Linked DNA regions of Homo sapiens: regions 1, 2, 3, 4 and 6 are each linked to region 5. The links are contacts of gene promoters, found by promoter capture Hi-C in blood cells and fetal thymus (Javierre and others, 2016). All regions are on one chromosome and are shown on one strand. The core of a region is centred on a gene start or on the middle of the fragment in contact, and the rest is flanking DNA. Distances in the headings are between cores, read along the strand shown.

What was found. The method cuts DNA at HindIII sites, captures the fragments that hold promoters and counts their contacts. A CHiCAGO score of 5 or more calls a contact.
Region 1: a fragment that was not itself captured here is called in contact with the fragment with the promoter of SH3PXD2A in region 5 in 3 of 17 cell types (M1 macrophages, M0 macrophages and endothelial precursors); the score reaches 10.1 in M1 macrophages.
Region 2: a contact is called between a fragment that was not itself captured here and the fragment with the promoter of SH3PXD2A in region 5, in 1 of 17 cell types (non-activated CD4 T cells). The highest score is 5.2, in non-activated CD4 T cells.
Region 3: a contact is called between a fragment that was not itself captured here and the fragment with the promoter of SH3PXD2A in region 5, in 2 of 17 cell types (activated CD4 T cells and naive CD8 T cells). The highest score is 5.9, in activated CD4 T cells.
Region 4: a contact is called between the fragment with the promoter of NEURL1-AS1 here and the fragment with the promoter of SH3PXD2A in region 5, in 2 of 17 cell types (M1 macrophages and erythroblasts). The highest score is 5.2, in M1 macrophages.
Region 6: a contact is called between a fragment that was not itself captured here and the fragment with the promoter of SH3PXD2A in region 5, in 2 of 17 cell types (total CD4 T cells and fetal thymus). The highest score is 6.5, in total CD4 T cells.

Annotation. Positions count from the first base shown.
Region 1 is chr10:103,577,993-103,581,599 of GRCh38, reverse strand. The region is part of intron 3 of NEURL1 (neuralized E3 ubiquitin protein ligase 1); the gene reads right to left. It overlaps LOC124902496 (a long non-coding RNA gene), which reads left to right. Exons shown (of 3, transcript XR_007062277.1): 3 at 611-1,629. Among named protein-coding and RNA genes, the nearest start is that of NEURL1-AS1, 62 kb to the right of the region's middle. The HindIII fragment of the contact is 5,414 bases long and covers 1-3,607 here.
Region 2 is chr10:104,113,510-104,117,363 of GRCh38, reverse strand. No RefSeq gene overlaps it. Among named protein-coding and RNA genes, the nearest start is that of SFR1, 6.7 kb to the left of the region's middle. The HindIII fragment of the contact is 603 bases long and covers 1,371-1,973 here.
Region 3 is chr10:104,155,991-104,159,566 of GRCh38, reverse strand. The region is part of intron 27 of CFAP43 (cilia and flagella associated protein 43); the gene reads left to right. It also overlaps the pseudogene LOC751602. Among named protein-coding and RNA genes, the nearest start is that of SFR1, 36 kb to the right of the region's middle. RefSeq lists an enhancer at 3,472-3,576. The HindIII fragment of the contact is 2,176 bases long and covers 845-3,020 here.
Region 4 is chr10:103,515,044-103,518,763 of GRCh38, reverse strand. NEURL1-AS1 (NEURL1 antisense RNA 1) reads left to right here and starts at 1,322. Exons shown (of 4, transcript NR_120675.1): 1 at 1,322-1,378; 2 at 3,362-3,423. All of the region lies in intron 1 of NEURL1 (neuralized E3 ubiquitin protein ligase 1), which reads right to left. RefSeq lists enhancers at 2,990-3,149, 3,170-3,249. The HindIII fragment of the contact is 6,397 bases long and covers 692-3,720 here.
Region 5 is chr10:103,853,734-103,857,129 of GRCh38, reverse strand. It overlaps SH3PXD2A (SH3 and PX domains 2A), which reads left to right and starts at 1,554. Exons shown (of 15, transcript NM_001394015.1): 1 at 1,554-1,935. The coding sequence starts at 1,864. The HindIII fragment of the contact is 2,015 bases long and covers 452-2,466 here.
Region 6 is chr10:104,135,459-104,138,983 of GRCh38, reverse strand. The region is part of intron 34 of CFAP43 (cilia and flagella associated protein 43); the gene reads left to right. Among named protein-coding and RNA genes, the nearest start is that of SFR1, 15 kb to the right of the region's middle. The HindIII fragment of the contact is 4,816 bases long and covers 1-3,525 here.

The DNA of each region.
Region 1 (3,607 bases), core at 362-2,861, 280 kb after region 5:
ACAGTTAAGTGCAATGAATTTGAAGTCATCAGTCTAGGTTCAAATCCTGGCCCTGCCATTTCCTGTATGACAGGGCTATATGACTGGACAAATAGCTGAACTTCTTGGGGCCTCTTCAGCAGTGAAATCAGCATCTACTGATTTACATAAAATCTGTATCTAATACTCCCCTTAGAAGAGACGCTGTGAGGATGAAAAGGAGTAAGGTACACAGGGCACCTAATAGGAGACCTGGCACAGTCATTAGGTTAATATAAGCCGTTGTTATTGGCATGTGAAATGCCACATGATTCAGAAGAAAGTGCATGGGCTTTGGGGTGATCCAGGTCTGGATCAGGCCTAGGTTTAAATGTCTGATCCAGCACTTGGCTGGTGGCTTTTGGGTAAGCAACCTTCCTCCCAGCCTCAAATTTCTCACCTAGAGAATAGGGGTAATAATACCTGCCCTGAGTTGTTGTTGGAAAGATCCGAGGTAAAGTGGGACCACCCCCAGCACCCAGAAGCTACCCGATAACTTCAGATATTAGTATTTGCTTGGCTTGAGCACAGTCTCAACTAAAAGTCAGGTACACCTGTCCTCAGACCATGGGCTTTTTGAACCTTAATGCAGGATTTCACATCAGTCATGATGGGTACCCAGGAAATACTCATTGAATGAAATCACCAAAGACCAAGAAGCAGCAGCTAAAATGTAGAGGTGAGAGGATAAAGAAGAAAGAAAGGAGAAACAGTGGAGGATGTACAAAGAGAAGGGGGTAGGAAGAGGATCCCTTTAGCCTTGCTTGAAATCTTGCTAGAGTTGGGAGGGGAGGGACAAAAGCTGCTGGGAAACAGCTAAAAACGGAACGAATCCCTAGGGCCAGTGCCCAGCCCAAGTCTGTCTTCTCTCCCTCTCCACCCCTCAGGGTCAGGAGCAGCTGCAGGCAGCCAGCAGCTCCAAAATAACCATCCCATCAGTGAGCCCAGCTGTGTCGAAGCCCTGAAATAGATGAAACTCGAGACACAGGAGCTGGTTAGAACACCCTCCGCAGAAGGGACGGCAAAGGTCACAGTTGAGTGAGCTGATACCAAGTTAGAGGTCAGGGCAGTGTTTGGGGCCCCAAGCCATGGGAGAACACCATGGGACCAACCTCGGCCCAAGACTGCACCACTTGATGGGTAAGGCTTAGAAAAACCAGATGGGCAACCTCTCACCCCAAGCAGTGGGGTGGCCCCACATTCGGAAGCAACAAGTTACATAATCGGTGCCGGGACACGTGCCCACCTGCTTTGGAGGTGTTTATGATGGGAACAGAGATGGCACAAGGCCATGAGGAGAAGCCGCTAAGCTGACTACCCTTGCATGTCCCATCATTCAGGAAAGAACCTGTCAGTCTTCAGCTCTTGCCTGTTCTGGTGCCCGGCAGTGGCTCTACCAACACCCTGGGCCAGAGCAAAAATAAGCAGACCCTGCCAGGGCAGGGAGGTCCCGGCCATGTGTTTCCCCTCCTCTAGGTGGTGCTGGGGGCCCTACTCACTGACCTACTGTGTGCCCAGCCCTGGGCAGGGAGTCTGGGAGAGGGAGGAGCCAGGAACTGGGCCCTGGGAGCCAAGAGTCAGTGGAAGGGGCAAGGCTTAAAGGCAGGACATGTTTTTTTTATTATTATTATTTTTTGATACGGGGTCTCGCTCTGTTCCCCAGGCTGGAGTGCAGTGGCACGATCTAGGCTCACTCACTGCATCCTCTGCCTCCCAGGTTCAAGCGATTCTTGTGCCTCAGCCTCCAAAGTGGCTGGGACTACAGGTGCACACCACCACGCCTGGCTAATTTTTGTATTTTTTGTAGAGACAGGGTTTCACTAGGTTTCCCAGGCTGGTTTCGAACTCCTCAGCTCAAGTGATCTGCTGGCCTCAGCCTCCCAAAGTGCTGAGATTACAGGTGTGAGCCACCATGCCTGCCCCGAAGTCAGGAAAATATTTGAATACAATTCAGTTACCAGAGTCTTAGTATCTAGGATTAGACAGGACTTTCGAGGAACTAAGGTACTAGGAAATCCATTTATCCCTGCCAATCTCTCAGCTAGAGGCTAGAATGGCCCTAGGGTCAGGAAGTTTACCATCTCCCAAGGCTACCTATTCCCCACCTTGGAATAACCATGACTTAGAAAAACTCTCCTGGTGGGAATCCATATGTATCCCAGATACCCTCCTTGGGGCTCCCTCTGAGTCTTCTCTCCTTTACAGTAAATAACCCCTTTAGGATCAAGATCCCCAACTAAGGCTGAAGTCCCCTTCCTGTTTCAGAGTGGGCTAGGGAAGGTATTCTGGACGACACAGGAGTTGACCTGAGCTGAAACACAGGAGGGTTTGGGTTGACAGGTGAGAAAACTGTTAGCAAACACCTGGTGAAGAGCAGGAGTGGGAGCGGGAGGAGACAGACTGAGGAGGGCCCCAGGGCTTGCTGTTGCCCAGAAAGCCACCCGGCCCTGCCATACGCTGCCAGCAGTGCAGGGTAACCAAGGCAGGACCTGGGCGTGGGGGACCTCAGGGCAGGCCGGGGCCTCCTTTGAGGCAGAGCTTGCCGTCAGCCTGAGAGTCCCATTTGTTGACGTTCTCACATCCGGAGCACTGGCTAATCTGTAACCACAGGTCAGCCTGCAGCCGCCTGGCTTGCTAGCAGGTATCTGCTGGCCCCTGTTTGGGAGGCGCTGCCAGCCCTTTACTGTCTCCACAAACATCCTCCTGCTGGTCCGCATCTGGCACGGGGCATGGGAGGGAGCCGGGAAGTGCGGGTGCCTGGCTTAGACAGGCAAGGGGGTTCTCCACCCCTCCCAGCACCCACCTCCACCCTCTCCCTTTAAACCCAACCATGGGAAATTTAGGAGAAACAAACATGCTTTCTGGGGCTCACAGAGGGAAGGGCAGAACATCCTAAAATCACTCACAGTCACAGACTTTAAGATTCAGAGAATCTTCAAGCCACGGGATCTCATAGATTTATAGAATCATCTGGTCTAGTGGGTCTCAAACTTTTTTAAAAAGCAGTGGAATCCTTTTGTCCAACAGAACCCCAAGTTCTGGCTGAAGTCTAGGAGGTGGACCTAGCACCTATCCCCTCACCCTCTCTCTGGCCTTCTCTGCAGCCTCCAAGACACCTCTGTGGAACCCCAGTGTTCCAAGGAACCCAGCTGGAGAAGCACAGATCTTGTTCCAAGGAGCAATTTCGATTGCATGGTTTTCCTTTCAGCCCGATACAGAGACCTGGGTTCAAGGCTCCCTCTTCTAGTTGAAGAGCTGGTTTGAGGGGTTGGCTTTTTTGGCCGTGGAGGGCGGTGTCTTTAAATTAGGTATTCCTTTTTAACCTAAAGACAAAAGCCCTTCTCATTTGTGTAAATGCCTTTCCACATCTGTGAGGTAAGTGGGGTGTGTATAATTATGCCCAAATAATGAGGAGGCTGAAGCACAGAGAAGCTGAGAACTGCCCAGAGCTAATGAGTGGCCAAGTCAAGCCTTGATTCAGTGGGTCTCCTGCATCTTAAATGAAGGCATTGTCCCCAATACTGCAAGGCCCGAGCTCCTCCCTCCACATACACCCCACCCTGAGCCCCACCACTCTCTCCAAGGCCCC
Region 2 (3,854 bases), core at 423-2,922, 260 kb before region 5:
CTGAGAGCTAGAATGAAGTTTAATCCCTTTCCCACCACTCTACCAATCAGGAGAAAACACTACGTCTCCACTCCCAAAGGCAAAGTAACATTACATTAACACCATCAACCTTTAGGAGCAGCGTCAAACCTGCTGAATGCAGAGCCCCTGACCAGAACTTCTGAAGCCCCCGTGAGGACCAGGTGGAGAGGCATGATCAAAGACGGGCAAGGTGGCTTGAGCAAAGACACCTCTTCATGGATCCTCTCCCTTCCACCTGCAAGATTGTGTCGAGTGCTCATGTCCCCCATACTGTGTCTAAATTATACCACTTGTCAGTGACAGCAACATCACTCAGCTCTCCACCTCCATGACACATCTGTGGCTACCCACATATAATGTATAAAGTTTGATGATGATGCTGGTGATCCTCAACTGGCAAGTGATATTATTACTTTTTGATACTAAAAATATGTCTTTCTTACAGATACTAAAAATATGTCTTTCTTACAGAAATAGGATCTTGGAAAAGAAGTATAGAATAAAAAATCATTCACTCTGACATAGTCCTCTAAGATTTCACCCAGCTATTTAGACTTTATTAGCACAAGATTAAGACAGATAATACTTTTCCTTCAACAATGTAAACCTTTAATTCAAACCTTTCCAAACTGTCCCACCCCACAAAGTTTCCCCTTATGTTCCACTCTGGTTGTTATATCATCTATCAAGCACATTATCTAAGCTATTTTTCACTTGATTTAAGTACCTACCTCTGAGTCAACTTGTCCTCTTCTTACAGCCACTTTGAAACCTTTCTTTTATTATTATTATTTTAATCAAGAGAAGGGTGATTTAAACAATTGTTTTCTAACACTCCCTACTACATGGGAATGATGGCTTAATATATCTCCATTTTACTGTTTACTCCCTTTCTTCTGCTCTGGTATGACATGAATCTACACCCTTTTATGAATGCTGGATATTGAAAACACACCTCTGTTGCTGAAGGTCTGGTGTGAAGGGAATTCATACTAAGCACAGGAATAACACCCACCAGCAAAGATGGTCTTTAGGATGGTCAGGCTTTTGGAGGCCTGTCATTTGGCAAACAGCATCCCATGATACCAAAGAATACAGGTTTGGGTTTTGGAGGCCAGGCAACTAATTACGTCCAGATTTGTTAAGCAAATTCCTATGAAACTATGAGGTACCGATAGGTTAAAAAAAAAAAAAAAAAAAGCAAGCATTACTACAGGTTGGCATTGTCTGAAATGCTTTCCTAGTCTAACTCTGGAGAATTAAAATAGAGATTTTAAACCTGCATGTACAAGTTTAGGATTTTTGTAAAGCTGCCAAATCTTTAATGTAACAATAATTAGCATAAAGCTTGTGTAATTAAGTTGCCCTGAAAAGAATGAGTTTGAATCTTTTGCAAGATGTCTCTCTTATTTAAAAAAGCAGTTTTACCAGTATATATTATTTTCACTCAGAGCTGTTTCCCACAGGTTTTGAAGAGATGTAAAGCTGACTGTGTTTTATTTCAGTAATTGTCTGCAAGGATAGCAGTTTATTTTCAGTCACTAGTTTTTGGAATGAATCAATCAACCACATTTGCCCACCAATATGTCTATGAATACTTTTCATTTTTATAGTTGAGAAGAATCAGTTTTATTGCTCCCCTCAATCTAGATAAAATTCCTTCGTGCTCAGAATGGGATTAAGTCCCCAAATCAAATGTGAGAAAGAGAAATTCAGACATATCAAGCACTAGATGCAGTAAGCCAGTACCTATAGTGACTTGATTTTGATGGGTAAAAAATAGCATGTAATCACAGGTTTGAACCACTACAGGTAAGAATTACATGGACTAATGAGAATACTTATGAAGCTGAAATTAAACATTTGCATACTAACTAACAGTTCTCAAGGCAAGTCTTAGAAACCCCTCAACTTCCAATCAATAACTGCTCAAACTGAGATTACAGGAAGCTTTCTTGGACTACTGTGTTCATAACTGAAGTCAGTTGTCTTGAGTGTTCAAATATTTTCTGCCAAGAATTGTGCAGGAGGAGAGGGAAGAATTGAGGAGGTAGGGGCAGTAGGGAAGGAAGGGAGGGAAGGGGGCTATATTTACTACATGTTTCTTGCCCTTAAGCAGAACAAAAACTAGTGTTCCAAAATGATGTTTTTCATAACAAATTACTGATTACTAGGCTTGTTTACTCCATACTAAAGTTATTCTGCAGATTTGACCTGGGTTTTAAGGCCTCAGCATCAGCTCAAACACCAAGAATCCTGGGCACGCTTAATTTGGGCTAAATTCTGACAAAGTCATGATTTCTTTCTTAATGAGAAATGTATTCGTCATGTTCTTAAGGCCTTTTGATACATTTGAGTTAAAAGGATTATGGAAGTTCAAGATTTTGTGTTTAATACAGGTATAAGCATGCATTACAGATACATGTGTACTTTCTTAGCACTGGTGGAATATTATAATGATCAGGTTAAACTTGATTATACCTTGTAACTTAGATAAGCCATTTCACAGTAGGTGAAATTTTGAATGAGTAAAGCCATAAAGCCACAGACCTTACTTATTTGTTTTTTTTTTTTTTTTTTCATTCCAAATCTTGTCTTTGTTGAGTTTTTTTGCTGTATGGAGTCAATTGGGGATGAAATGGGCTGTGGTCACAAACTGTGAAGGTGAGGTTGCTTAAATCTGTACTAAACATGAGATAATCATGGGTTGTCAGTTTAAATTGAGGAAAATTGGGAAGTCTTTGGAATTTTTGTTTGAATACAAGTTTTGGTGAATAAAAATGACACTCATTGATGTTTACAACATTTTTCTCCAAGTCATTCATTCTCTTGGAAATATGGCTGCAGCAAGGGATAGGCCTGAGTCAGAGCATCTGAGTTATTTACTGACCCTATCACTAAAAACTAACGAGCTGTATTGACTTTGGGGGGTTCAATTCAGTTTTCTCATCTATAAATTGTGAAGAGAAAAGTGATCTTTCCCTGGCTCTGAGTTAGTTCCTACAATTCCAGGTGGGGTCATTTTGGTACACCTGAAATTACCACTTCCCACCAGAGTGTTAAATGAAGTTACGGGTAAAATTCTCTATAGAAATAACCATTATGATAATATGATGGAAGATGTATTAGGTGCTGTAGACGGAAAAATAAATATATTCTTTAGGAGTTTACAAATGGACACCAGTATTTATCACATTGATTAAACCAGAGCCAGCTCTGGGAAAAACTAGCACACAGAAGTTTTTGTTTTTTTTTTTCCAGTGACCTTTCTTTCCTCTTCGCAGGCCTCCCACATTATCCTAATCGAACCCTTTCAAGCCCAGGGTTTTAGGCTACTCTCATCAACCACCTCTTGCCATTGCAGGGCATACTCCAAGTTATTTTGCTTACTTGTACTGTCATCTTCTGGAACTCATGTCCCTGTCTTTATTAACACTGGATGCATAGAGTTGGTGCTCAATAAATGTTTTGAATGGGTGAATTTCAGAATGAATTGATTAATTATTTAATCAGTAATTCAGAAAGTGAGCATCCCAAAATAAGAAGAGGAAGTGATGCTGTAGCAGTCTCCAGGGAAGAATATTTTTGATGCAACTGATACCTTGTGTAACAGCTTCTCTAAGGGGAAAACTGTTCCTCAAATCTAATATAAACCGTTCAGCTGTATGTTTTCTAATTATTTCTTATCATTGCTTTGTATTGTTCTGTCATTGGACCAAGGAAGATTACTTTTACCAGACTAGAAACATACAGGAAACATGTGGTTCCTTTCCAGATGATGATATTGGCCATCTTTGAAAGTGGTGCCTTTGTTCACAATGGGATGGGTTTTA
Region 3 (3,576 bases), core at 683-3,182, 300 kb before region 5:
TCCACCTAAGCCTGGTCCTCTCCTGGTGCACTAGTCACCATCCCATCTCACCTACTCAATGTCATTACTCATCAGTTTACCCTCTTCTTTCCTGCATCATCAATTTTTCCCACCCTGTGGATTTTCCCCATCAGTGTAGACACATGCTATAATTGTATACATCTCTCATCTTATTAAAAAAATACTTCCTGGAAGGAAATGCTTGAGTTCTTTCTACTGTTCTTGTGATATTTGGGTCAGTATAAATTTATTTCAAAACAAAAAGTAAAAGGAAAAAACCCAACTCCTTTGGCCTCTCTTTCCCCCTGGATCACTCAATGTCTCTGCTCTCCTTTACTGCAAAACTCAAAAAAATCTATGTTGATGGTTTTCAATTTCTCTCTCAAGTAAAAAAAAAATCTTGTATCGTGGAAAATGTCAAACATGTATAAAAATAGAGAGAACAGTATAATGACCCCTTTATCCAGCTTCCGCAATTATCTACTCACGGCCAATCTTAATTCATTTTATACCTCCACTTACTTCCCTAACATTGGATTATTTTTTTCACCAATTTTTATTTTAGAATTATTCAAATGTACATAAATGTTACATGAATAGTACCATCTATATACCATATATTTGTACCAATGGCATATATATTACGTATATGTTATATATATATTGTATATGTATACCTGTGCACATCAGTTTTTTATATTGCCACATTTGTTCTCTTTTTCTCCTGAATAGTTGGAGACAAATCACAGATATCATGATATTCCTAAATATTACAGCTTAAACCTCCTAAGAACAAAAATATTCTTCTACATAACCACAGTAAAATTATCATACAAAAGAAGCTTAATATTAATATGATTATCTAATTAAGTCTATATTCAGATTACCCTGTTGTCCAAGTAGTGTCCTTCATAACTTTTTTTATTGGTGTTTATCAAAAAATCTAATCAATTTCACTTAGTTTGTAATGTTCTTTTAGTCTCCTTTAATCCACAACAGTTCTACAACTTTGTGTTCCATGACATTGACATTTTTTAAAAATCGAGGCTTATTTTTTTGTGGCATGTCCCCCAAGTTGAATTTGATTGGTTTCTCATGATTAGATTTAGGTGCAGTATTTCTGACAATCATACTAAGTAGATGATGCTGTGTCTTCAGTGCATCGTATCAGGAGGTTCCAGATTTCAGTCAGTCCCACTGTTGGTAACATTAAGTATGATCACTGGAAAGAAGGTTTCTCCAGATTTCTTTGTTATAGAAGTTCTCTTTCTCCTTCGTGTGTAATAACTAACCTGTGGGGGTGACATTTTGAATCTGACTCTCTGTTCATTCTGTCTTTTGGCATCCATTGATGATCCTTGCCTGAATCAATTATTACTGTAGTGATTGCAAAACGGTGCCTTTCTAGCTTTTATCATTTATATTTATTAGTTAGTATTCTTCTGCAAAGAAGAGCTTTTCCTCTGCCCTACCAGAGGCATACTCTAACTTAATGTGTTTTAATCCATGACTATCATTATTATTTCTGTTGTTCAAAGTGTTCGGAGCTTCTTCAAGTTGTCATCTGTGTCCTTTTCATGTGTCCTCATCAGTTTTTGAGCACTTTCTCCGTTTCTAACACAGCAAGATGTTTTAGGCACCAAGAATAAGCTATTTTTCTTTTTAGAGAATCCTGGATTCCTTTTGCTGGCAATTGGTATTTAGAGACCAAGATCTGGATACCAGATGTGTTCTTTGCTATAGGGGTTAGGAGTCATTCTCTCTCTCTCTCTCTCTCTCTCTCTCTCTCTCACACACACACACACACACACACACACACACACACACACATCCAGTTAGCTCCAATTCCAACTCAATTCCAATTCGACAGCACAGGGTTCTTTTCTCTTTCCTTCATTTAATATTTAGGTCTCCCTTTTTCAGTGAAAACTCTAGTTCCCAAAATACACATATACTTACTGATTTGCTCAGTCCTACAATGTACATAAAATACCTCTATCAAAAATGCTGTCCCATCTACCCCCTATGTTTTTTTCACCAAACTATCTCTGCCTCTTCCCAGAGATTCCAGCTGGGCTAGACGCTGAGCCCCTTTGGTAACAACATTTAAGGGAACATGAGCACAACGCATAATGTCCTTAAAAGCATGTTGTGATGTGCACATTTTGTAATTACCTTTTTTGTTGTTTTATAGCAACCATATGTAAAACATTCCAAATACTTCTACAGCTCTGCAGTCTAATCCCTTTGTCACTTTTGGAAGGTGACTTTTCAGCTTAATGCACATTGCCCTCTCTGTAGAGGAAGGAAAAAGGTATGGGCCTGCCTTACTGAGAACTAAACAGAGTCCAGGGAAAGACTCCCCTGTGGGAAACCACTTTGTTCTCTACAAAGTATCAGCTAAACCAGAAAGGTGATTCCAGGAGGGGTTAGCCAAACAGCAGCAACAACAAAAATGTGCAGTTCAGGTTTTCAGCTTTAAGATATCTTTAGACAATGTTATTTTTACTTGTTTTATTTTTTTCATTAGAAGTGACCAAAATTAAGATGGTGAGACCTCTGAGACCAAATTTTTGTCCCATCCCTATCCCCTTGCCAGTTGCTTACAGAATGGATCATGTGCCCCTTATGTTGAGGGGACCACTTAATTGCTCTCCTGCGTCCTTGAAAGAAAGAAGTAAGATTGTGTTTTTGCCACCGATTTAGCCATATAAACCCCATCTCCTTGCCGTTTTCTGGGTTTCGAGCTGCTGTCTCTAAAAGTACCATATCATTGTGCTTGGTATCAGTTGGTGCTGGACAAATTTTGAACAAGTTATGTACAAAACCTTTTAAATTTTATATTATTTTGGAACTTTGCTTCTTTGGGTTTGTGGCATCCGAGCCACCCTGTTTGACTGTGAGAGCTCTCTAGTCTGTGGGCTGGCAGTTTGCTGATCGTTTAAAGATTCTTTCCCACTCAATCCCCACTTTTTGGTAAGGTTTTTGTGTAAGGTCTGTTAGGTTTACATCCTGAAGCTTATTGGCTTAAAATGTACTCTTCTTTGATGTAGTCTCTTTGGGGCCAATTGGGAGAAAGAGAAACCAATAGTGCAACCATTGTGATACTGAATATTAACAGGTATCTTTTTGGAAATAAAGAAACAGTCCCTCCAAACAAACAAAACAAATACTATAGCTATTTTCGGATTTCCTAGTAGCTTTTTTTTTGTTCTTAGACTATATCCCGCTAAGAATACACCAACATATTATGTTTAGAATTACTTTGACTAATTCTTTTTTTCCCCTTTCTGTGAGGATAACATTACCAGTTTGATATACAGTTGACTTCTTTAAGCAATGGGGAAGAGGCTGGTGTGTCTTCCGATTTTATGATTTTTCTTTTGTTTCTATATGACCCCCTAATTTCCACCTCTTCCTTCTTTCCCTTTACTCCCAAGTCTCCACAGGGCACTTTCCTCTTTCGAGTTGCCCTTTTCTCCCCAAAGCAGTACCCTGAGACCACACCTCTGCCCTTTTAAGTCCCTTCTTTTTTATTTCAAAGTAGCTGCTTTTCTGACACCTCTACAGCTACCA
Region 4 (3,720 bases), core at 73-2,572, 340 kb after region 5:
TGTCTGAGTGATAACTAGATGCACAGGTAGATATCAAGGTATGGAACCACAGAATAGAGTTGTTCCCCAAGATACCTGCACTGCTCACTCCCTCACCTCCTGCAAATGCCATCAGGTCTTCTCTGGCCCAACCTATTCAAAGTGCTGTTCCCCAGACCCCCCAACTCATAATCCCTGTATCTGCCTCACTCATGGTTTCTTTCTCTCCAGGGCATTTTTCATCATCTGACATCCATATGTCATGTTTTTGGGTTTTAAAAATCTGTCTCTCTTCATAAGAATATAATTCCATGAGACAGAGGACTTGTTCCCTGCTGTATCCTAGTACTTAGAACAGTGCCTGGCACACAGTAGGCATTGACTAAATACTGGTTGAAAGAAAGGAATGAAAGAAAAGAGGGAGAGAGAGGGAGGGAAGGGAAGGGAGAGGAAGAGGGGGAAGGAAAAATGTAGCACTCTAAATGCAAACAGGCCCATACTATACATATTACACAATTTGCTCTTTTAATAATATAGTAGACTTTTTTTTTAAATCATGGTACCTCATTAATGTGTAAAGCTGCAAGGTATTCCTGTGAATAGACGTCATCATTTACTTAACCCACTGCTTCCTTCCTGAAACTGTGTGGGCAGTAAGTGGAGAAAGGGGCAAAATAAGGTACTCCCAGTCCATGGCTCTTGGCAATAAGCTTTCCCAAATTTCAGTCTAGGAAATTGACTGTTCATGGATCAGGGCATGCAAAGTTACCCTCAAGAGACATAAAGGATACCTGGCTGGAGGTGAAGAAAAGATGTGTTCATTGGATGCCAAAGATCGGTGAAAAGGGGATGTCACTGAGGCACACTGCGGTGAGGCCCACGGGAGCAGAGCCAGGGAGATGGTGGCCTGCCAGGCCCAAGTGTTGGGTCCTCCTGGCAGGCATTTCCCTGTTGGTGAAGTGGCCTGGGCAAGGCTCAGAGCCCATAGGCATTGAACTCTCAGACTGTGTTCTCAACTTGCCAGGCCTAGAGCAAGTTCACCCAGCACTCAAAGAGCTGCTGCAGGGGAGAAGGTGCCAGGAAGTCCATCTGACAGAAAATTTCTCTTTGGGAAACAGTACATTGACTTCTGATTTGACTCATGAACCTTTGTGGACTTGATTACAGACAGCCAGGGGCTTCCAGTCCTATCAACTCAGAGGAGACACAGAGGAGATGAAATTTGGGGCCAGCTCAGGCAAAGGCCAGATGTGGGCAGGAGAGGACTCACTACGGAAACCAGCCCCTCAGGCTGACCCACCTAGCTCCTAGCTCACAAAGCCATTGTGTTGAGTAAATGAGGTCAGAGCTGTGGGTCTTGGGGCTCAGGGCCTGGTACACAGTAGGAGGTCATTAAACAGTAGGTATTTCTTGTTTATTATTAGAAGTTTGAAGAAGGTGAGTAATGGTATAGGGCAGGTCACACAATGGTGACTCACACCTGTAATCCCAACACTTTGGGAGGCCAAGGCAGGAGGATCGCTTGAGCCTAGGAGTTCAAGACCAGCCTCAGCAATATAGTGAGACCTCATCTCTACAAAAAGTTTAAAAATCAACTGAGCGTGGTAGCACATGCTGGTAGTCCCAGCTACTCAGGAGGCTGAGGTGGGAGGATCCCTTGAGCCCAGGAGGTGGAGGCTGCAGTAAGACGAGATCACGCCACTGTACTCCAGCCTGGGTGACAGAGTAGGACCCTGTCTCAAAAAAGAAAAAAGAAAAGGGAGGGAGGGAGGGAGGAAGGATGGAGGGAAGGAAGGAAGAAAGGAAGGGAGGGAGGGAGGAAAAGGAAAGGAAATAAATCAGGAAGTGTAAGTATTCCAGGTTTTTCTTCCAAAGAAGGAAGGAAGGAAGGAAGAGAGGGAGGGAGGGAGGGAGGAAGGAAGAAAGGAGAAAGGAGAAAGGAAAGTAAATAAATCAGGAAGTGTAAGTCCTCCAGGTTTTTCTTTCTTCCAGAATCGTACTGGTTATTCCAGGTCCCCTGAGGAGGAATCTACATTTTTCCAAGCTCTCCAGGCAATTCGTAGGCCCTTAGAGAACCACTGCACTGTGCCATATCATACCTCTAAACTCTGCTCCCTTGGCCTCTCTGGCCCTCTGACCTTTCCTGATTCTCCTTGTACCTCTCCCACACCTTCTTCATGGTTTCATTCTGTCCACCCTGTGATATTTCAACCACTCTCATGGTTTAAGTGACACCCACTGCTGACAACTCATTGTGGCCCTGATCTCTCTTCTGAGATTCAAGCTCACACATGGAGTTGCCAACCCAGCGTCTCCCCCAGGATATCTCAGGGCTCTTCTGACACACCCTGGCCAAAACTCAACCTATCATCTTTCCCTCCAACCCCCGCCTTCTGCTTGGGGTCCTGATGGGATCACCATTCTCCCAGTCACCTGAAAACCTGGCACCAGGAATAATCTTGGATTATTCCCTCACTCTCACCGCCTGCATCATTCAGTTATCAGTGCTGCCAAACACAACCTTTTATTTTTTTCTTTTCTTTTTTTTTTTTTTTTTGAGATGGGGTCTCACTCTATCACCCAGGCTGGAGTGCAGTCGTGCAGTCTCAGCTCACTGCAACCTTCACCTCCCAGGCTCAAATGATCCTCCCACCTCAGCCTCCCAAGTAGCTGGGACTACAGGCGCACACCACCACACTCGGCTAATTTTTTATATTTTTGTAGAAATGGTGTTTTGCAATGTTGCTCAGGCTGGTCTCAAACTCCTGGACTCAAGTGATCCACCTGCCTTGGCCTCCCAAAGTGCTGGGATTACAGGCATGAGCCACCGCACTCGGCCAAAGCACACCTCTTAAATATGTTTCAAACGTGTTCCTTCCTCTCTTGGACCACATCTGTAGTTCAGGCTTCAGCATCCCTCCCCTAGACAACTTCACTTCCTTCATAAGTGGTCTTCCAACTTGTCCCTCTTAACTCCATCCTCCACAGGGTAGCCAGCACGATCTTTCCAAAAAGCAAATCTAAAACTTTCAATAGCTCCTACTGCCCAGAGACACCTAGGGTCTGTGTGGACACTAGTTCATTCGTCATCTGGTTTCACTTTCATGGCTGAGCTAAATGTTTCACTAGGTGGTGATTTGTTCTTGGCAACAAGATGATCTTTTGCAAATGAGAGTCTCACTGACCTTGCAGAAGTGAAAGTTTACTATACCTTTATAAACAGCCTTGGCTAATGTACTAGCATGACTGCTAAAAGAGCAGTGACTGGAATTTTCATAGTAAACAATGCAGCATCTCCTACCCTAATTTCCCCAGCACCAGGGGCCTTCTAGTTAGGATTCCCCAGGCCCACACTTTCTAACATCTCTCTTTCCTTTTCCAGTCCCACACTGGTCAGTTACAGCCTCCTACGTCCCAGCTGTGCGTTTCCTGTGAAAAGAATAAGTGAGTAAATGAGAAGTTATTTTAAAGGATGTGAAGTGGGGAACTTCCTCTGGAAAGAATATCTAAACACACACTTGATGTTTCTTTTTTTTTTTTTTTTTTTTTTTTTTTTTGAGACAGAGTCTTGCTCTGTCGCCCAGACTGGAGTACGGCGGCGTGATCTCAGCTCACTGCAACCTCCGCCTCCCAGGCTCAAGCGATTCTCCTGCCTCAGCCTCCCGAATAGCTGGGATTACAGGTGCCCATCACCACACCTGGCTAATTTTTGTATTTTTAGTACAGACAGAGTTTCACCAT
Region 5 (3,396 bases), core at 305-2,804:
GGTCTACCTCTCATCCCTTCAGGGAATAATCCTTGCTCATGGAGGTAGTGCCCTGTCCTCCCATTTTCCCATCAGCTGAGCAACATTACCAGGTGCACCTTCCCCCAGGACTCCTGCTCCAACATTCACAAAGGTTTTCTGTCATCTTCTCTGACCAAGAAGCTCTGGCCTGGTGCCAAGATCTCTCACAGTCTGAGCCCCCTAGGCCCATCCATCTTTTTTTTTCTTTGTCCCGTGCCATCGTTTGGTGTCCTAGCGCCCTTCCCCAGGAAGGTTGGAGGAATAGTGGGTTACTCTGTATGGAGCAAATATGTGAATAAATAAAGCCTTAGATCTGTGCCTGGGTTCTGACAGTCTAGAGAACGCGCAGAAGAAAGTATTAATGCAATTAGGTCACAAAATTATTTGTCCTCTTTTCAGATGTTTCACATTGGTCCACAGTCACAAAGCTTTATTGTGATTGTGTAACAACTGGAGTAGTTGTGAAAACACTACCCTTTAAATGTTTGAAAGCAGAATGGGAAAAAAATGTTGAACTAGAAGGGGGGAAGCTACATTGAATTAAGTAGTAACTGTGCTCCAAGTCCAGGGACCACGGACAAGTGGCTTGGAAAGTGGGTTTTCCAGACTAGAGGGAGGGGTGAGAATGCCAGAGCCTGGGGCTCACGGTGAGCTGGCCTCCAACCGGGTGGGTTTTCCCACCATTGTATGCTCCTTTCCCTGTCGCCAGCTTGGGGAGGGTCCCCAGGGGAGCCCTGGGCTTAAGGCAGTGGTGTTATGCAGAGTCTGTAACGTTGTCATTGGTAAATGATGCACAGGGTAGTTACACAAGCCCAGATCGATGGACGACTCAGGCAACGAATCGATCACTTTTCCGGGGAGAATTCACCCTTTATGACCTGCAGAGGGTCAGGTGGTTCGTCCAAAGAGGCTCTGGCTTGAAGGATTTAAAGCTGGCCTTTTCCCCATTCCCATCTCCTCCTCGGGGGCCTGGGCAGTAACAGCCGGGTAATAAACTACTTCTCATTAAAGAGATCTGGGGGTGGAAGTTGTAGGGGGACATAAAAGTGGGGACAAAAAGGCACAAATCCGCTCCGAGGCGGAAAGCCAGGATGGGGGCGCGCGGGGCTCACTTTCCCCGCTCCCTCTCCCCCCGAAGCCACCCTGAGTTTTTGTGCCTAGCGAACTAGCCCGGTGCTGCGCCAGGCCGCTGGCTGCGCGCTGGGCTCGGGTGGGGGCTCGTCGGCCCGCCCCTGCCACTGGGGCCGGGCTGCAGCCCCCTCCCCGTCGCCCCGAGCCCCTCCCCCGGCCCGGAGCCCCTCCCCGCGCGCTTCCCCTCTCTCCCCTCCCTCCCTTCCCTTCCCTGCCTGCCAGGCCCTGCCTCCGCCTCCTGCGCCCACAGCCTCCGCCAGCGCCGATCCCCCCGGAGCCCGAGCCGGAGAGCGGCGAAGGGGAGCCGCCGGCCCCTCCCCAGGACGCTGACAGCAGGCTCCGGGGCCCCCGCCCCGTCCCCTCGCCGACGGGACACACCCCCGCCCCTCCTCTGCTCCGCCAGTTCCCGCCGGACCCACCGGGCGGCGGAGAGAGCGAGCGGGCGAGCGCAGCGCGGCGGCCGCGCGGGAGTGAAGGGGCGCGCGGCAGGCCGGCGGGGAGTCCCCCGGGGCGCACGGAGCCCGCGCGCCCTCCGGGACCCTCCCCCGTCCCTGGGCCGGACCTGTGGGCGCCGGGAGTCCGGGCAGCGTTCGGCGCGCCGGGCCGGGGTGGCGGGCGGCCCCGGGACCCCGGCAGCTGGAGAAGGAGCCGGAGCCCGGCCGGGATGAGAAGGTGACGCCGCCGGGGGCGCCACTCGCTTTGTGGGGGAAGATGCTCGCCTACTGCGTGCAGGATGCCACCGTGGTGGACGTGGAGAAGCGGAGGAACCCCTCCAAGCACTACGTGAGTACAGCCCCCGCCGACCCTGCTGGGGGTGGCCCGAGGTCCCGGGAGGGCCCCGGATGGCCCCTTGCCCCTCCCAGCTGTGAGGTCGCGAAGCTAAGCGCCCACTGGGCAGCCAGCAGCCGTGGAGTTTCTTCGCAGGGCTGTGATCTCCAGGGAAGCCTCTTCTGTCCTTCCTCCTTCGCACCCCCGCCCCCCCGGTTTCTTTTTTTGGCATTGGAATTGGCAAGTGGCTGCCCTTGTCTGTTACAACGGTGAAGTCATCTGTCCGCCTTTGATGGATGGTGGGGGGAGCTTTCGTCAACCCCTCACAGAGCAGCCCCGTCGGGAAAGCGCATCTCCTCGGCCCTCCCCAGGGGCCCTGGGCGCTCACGCTCACACAGCCCGAGATGCTTTCAGAGCTCGCCCTGGAGAAGGAAGCCTCGCGCCCTGCCTCCCACGCCAGCTCTGTCTCTGCCTTCCTAGGCCTGGGGCTGGGGGCAGAAGGAAGCCGCCGCCCCCTTGCCCAACCTCCACCCTCCGCGCTAAGCTTTGATTTCCCTCATAAAGCCATTGTGTCCGTCGGTGTGAGGAGAATTGTGGCTTTTCCTTTTATCCCTCCTCTGGACGTGACCCTTAACCGGGTTCATTTCCTCTTAAGTGATGCTCCATCTCCAGACACGAGGAGGCGAATGTTTGCTGTGGTCTCCGAGGAACCGCCCCTCCCCCTTCCTCCCCCAAACTTTAATGAGAAGGGGTTAAGGTTGACTGGGGCAGCTCCAGAGCCTATGTGACAGTTCCCCTTTCATCTCAGCCGGTCCTGTCTTCCCATCCCTCACACCTTAGGAAGTAAACACGGTGTCCTTGACCCCTCTGAGCGTCTGTGCTCCTGTACTTGAGATAGAAGAGACCCAAGCACAGAGGACTGCATGTTATTTGCAAATTGGGTATTTAGAGGAGCAGTTCCAGTGCTCAAAGCATTAATCTTAACAGTTAAAACAGGCGCTGGTTGCTGCCCTGGATTGTACATTGATCTCTGAAGTGCCTTTTCTTCCACTGTTGCAAAGGGACTGGGGTTTGTGGCAATGTCAGCCTCGGGCTACTCTTTTTGCCTTTGTCACCAGTGTAGCTCTGAACTTTGAGTTTCTTTACAGCTGAGCAAATGCGGCTGGGCTCATATGGGGAGGAGGTAAATGTGGAGGCAGGTTGACTAGGCAGGGAGGTGGGTGCCTGTCGGGTCCAGTCCCTGACACCCTTAGAGAGTTGTTTCTTTTGTGTCATCTGGTCCAGCAAGCATTTTCTGCTGCTGTTACAAGAAAGCTCTTTTTGGAGGGCTTGGGTCACCAGGTGGTCAACCTGCTCTGTGGACAGATGTCCCTTTGTATATCCCAGGGTTTATTTTTCTCAAATGTTGCAGGCTAAGTTTTAAGGGTTCTCATTTGTAGTCCTCAGCTGAGCTTGGCACTGCATTCAACAGATGGC
Region 6 (3,525 bases), core at 31-2,530, 280 kb before region 5:
GCTGAAATTCCCCATTTGTTCATGCATGTTGTCTATCCTTTCCAAAAATTTTTGTTTTAGAAAAGTTGTAAAGATAGTACAGAGAATTCTCATATACCCCTTATCCAGTTTCTTATATTTTATTATTTTCCATCAGTATGGTACATTTGCCACAACTATTGAACTAATATTGACACATTATTATTAACTAAAGTACAAACTTTATTCACTTTTCCTTAGTTTTTACTTAAGGTCATTTTTCTGTTCCAGGATCTCATCAGGATGCATTTTATTTAGTTGTCATGTCTTTCTTTTTTTTTTTTTCTTTTTAGACTGAGCTTTGCTCTTATTGCCCAGGCTGGTGTGCAATGGCACTATCTCAGGTCACTGCAACCTCCACCTTCTGGGTTCAAGCGATTCTACTGCCTCAGCCTCCCGAGTAGCTGGGATTACAGGCATGCGCCACCACACCTGGCTAATTTTGTATTTTCAGTAGAGGCGGGGTTTCTCCATGTTGGTCAGGCTGGTCTCGAACTACCAACCTCAGGTGATCCGCCCACCTCAGCCTCCCAAAGTGTTGGGATTACAAGCCTGAGCCACCGTGCCACCGGCCAGTTGTCATTTCTTTCTAGATAGTGACAGTTTCTCAGTTTTGTCTTGTTTTTGATGACCTTGACAGTTTATTGTAGAGTAATAGTCAGTTATTTTGTGGAATGTCCCTCAACTGTGGTTTCTCTGATGTATTTATCACTATTCGCCTGGAGTATGGAGAAAGAGACCACAGAGGTAAAATGCCCTCTCAGCACATGATTTCAAGGATACATGCTATCAACATGTCATCACTGTTTATTGAATCTTGACCACCTGAATTGAGGTAGAGTTTTGTCAGGCTTCTTTACTATAAAGTTACTTTTTCTCCACTGTTCCATGCTATACTCTTTATAAGGAAATTAGTCATAATTATTTTAAATTTCCCATCTGATAGTTCTAACACCTGTCATCTCTGATCTAGGTGTGTTGATTGCTTTGTAACTTAGTTTTTTAGAGATATTTTTATTGTGGTATAATACACATAACATAAAATGTACTATTTTAACCATTTAAAGTGTGCAAGTCAGTGGCAATTAATACATCGCAAAGTTGTGCAGCTAGTACTGCTATCTAGTTCCAGAACATTTTTGTTTTGTTTTGTTTTTTGTTTTTTGAGACAGGGTCTGGCTCTGTCATCTGGGCTGGAGTGCCGGAGCATGATCTCAGCTCACTGCAGCCTCCGCCTCCCAGACTGAAGCCATTCTCCCACCTCAGTAGCTGGAATTACAGGCACGTGCCACCACACCTGGCTAATTTTTATATTTTTTTGGTAGAGATGGGGTTTCACCATGTTGCCCAGGCTGGTCTCAAACTCCTGGGCTCAAGCGATCCTCCTGCCTTAGCCTCCCAAAGTGCTGGAATTACAGGAGTGAGGCACCCCACCCGGCCTCAGAACATTTTTTATCATCCTAAAAGGAAACCCCACACCCATTAAGCAATTATTCCCCATCCACCTCTTCCCTTAGCCCCTGGACACCACTAATCTGCATTTTCTGTATGGATTTGCCTATTCTTAGTATTTTGTATGAATGGAATCATACAATATGTGGCCTTTGTTTTCTGGCTTCTTTCACTTAGCATGTTTTTAAGATTTAACCATGTTGTAGCATGTATCAGTCTTCATTCTTCTTTTGTGACCAAATCATATTTCATTTTATGGATATACATTTTGTTTATCCATTCATCAGCTGGTGAATATTTGGGCTATTTCCACCTTTTGGCTATTGTGGTGCCTATAACTGTTCATGCACAAGTTTTTGAAAACCTGTTTTCAGTTCTCTGGGGATATATACCTAGAAGTGGAATTGCTGGATCGTATGGTCATTGTATGTTTAACTGATTGAGGCACTAAAAACTGTTTTCCATAGTAGCTGCACCATTTCATATTCCCACCAGCAAAGTATGTGGGTTTCACTTTCTCTACGTCCCTATCAAAACTTGTTATTGTTTCTCTTTTTTGTTGTTTGCTTGCTTGCTTTTTAATTACAGCCATCTTAGTGGGTTTATTCTTGATGTAAATTTCTCTAATGACTAATGACATTGAGCATCTTTTCATATGCTTGTTGACCATTTGTATATCTTTGGACAAATGACTACTGAAGTCTTTTGCCCATTTTCAAATTAGGTTTTGTTGTTGAGTTATAGGAGTTTTTTATATGTTCTGGACATTAAACCCTTATATAATTTGCCAATATTTTATCCCCTTCTGTGGATTGTCTCATGTTTTTGGTGTTAAATCTAAGAATCAGGCCGTGTGCGGTGGCTCATGCCTGTAATCCCAGCACTTTGGGAAGCTGAGGTGGGATCACCTGAGGTCAGGAGTTTAAGACCAGCCTGGCCAAGATGTGAAACCCCGTCTCTACTAAAAATACAAAAATTAGCCGGGCATGGTGGCAGGCACCTGTAATCCCAGCCACTCAGGAGGCTGAGGCAGGAGACTCACTTGAACTCGGGAGGCGGAGGTTGCAGTGAGGCGAGATGGCGCCACTGCACTCCAGCCTGGGTGGCAGAGTAAGACTCTGTCTCAAAAAATAAAATAAAATAAAATAAAATAAAATAAAATAAGTAAATATCTAAGAATCAAATCTGAAGTCATGAAGATTTATCCCTGTTTTCTTTCTTCTTTTCTTTTCTTCTTTTTTTTTTTTTTTTTTTTGAAATGGAGAAATGGATTCTCGCTCTGTCTCCCAGGCTGGAGCACAGTGGTATGATCTTGGCTCACTGCAACCTCCATGTCCCGGATTCAAGCGATTCTCCTGCCTCAGCCTCCTGAGTAGCTGGGATTTACAGGCGCCCACCACCATGCCCAGCTAATTTTTGTATTTTTAGTAGAGACAGGGTTTCACCTTGTTGGCCAGGCTGGTCTCAAACTCCTGACCTCAGGTGATCTGCCTGCCTCAGCCTCCCAAAGTGCTGGGATTACAGGCGTGAGCCACTGTGCCTGGCCTCAGTCCCTGTTTTCTTCTTTGAAGTAGGGAAATGTTAGCCATCCAACTTTTTGTTTTCAATATTGTTTTGGCTATTCATGATCCTTTGCAGCTTCATATGAATTTGAGGATCAGGTTTTTCCATTTGAAAAAAAAAAGCCATTGAAATTTTGGCAGTGATTGCATTAAATCTATAGATTCCTTTGAGGAGTACTGTCTTAAGTCTTTTGATCCAAGAACATGGGATGACTTTCCATTTATTTAATCTTTATATTCTTTCAGTAATATTTTGTAGGTTTCTTTGTACACACACTTTTTAGATAAACTTTATTTCTAGGTTTTTTCTTTCTGATATTATTGTAAATGGAATTGATTTATTAATTCTTTTCCAGATTTTTCAGTGGTGATGTATAAAAATATAACTGATTTTTGCATATTAATCTTATACTCTGCAACTTTGCCAAATTTATGTATTATCTCTAGTAGGGTTTTTGTGGATTCTATATGACTTTCTCTATATATATAGACT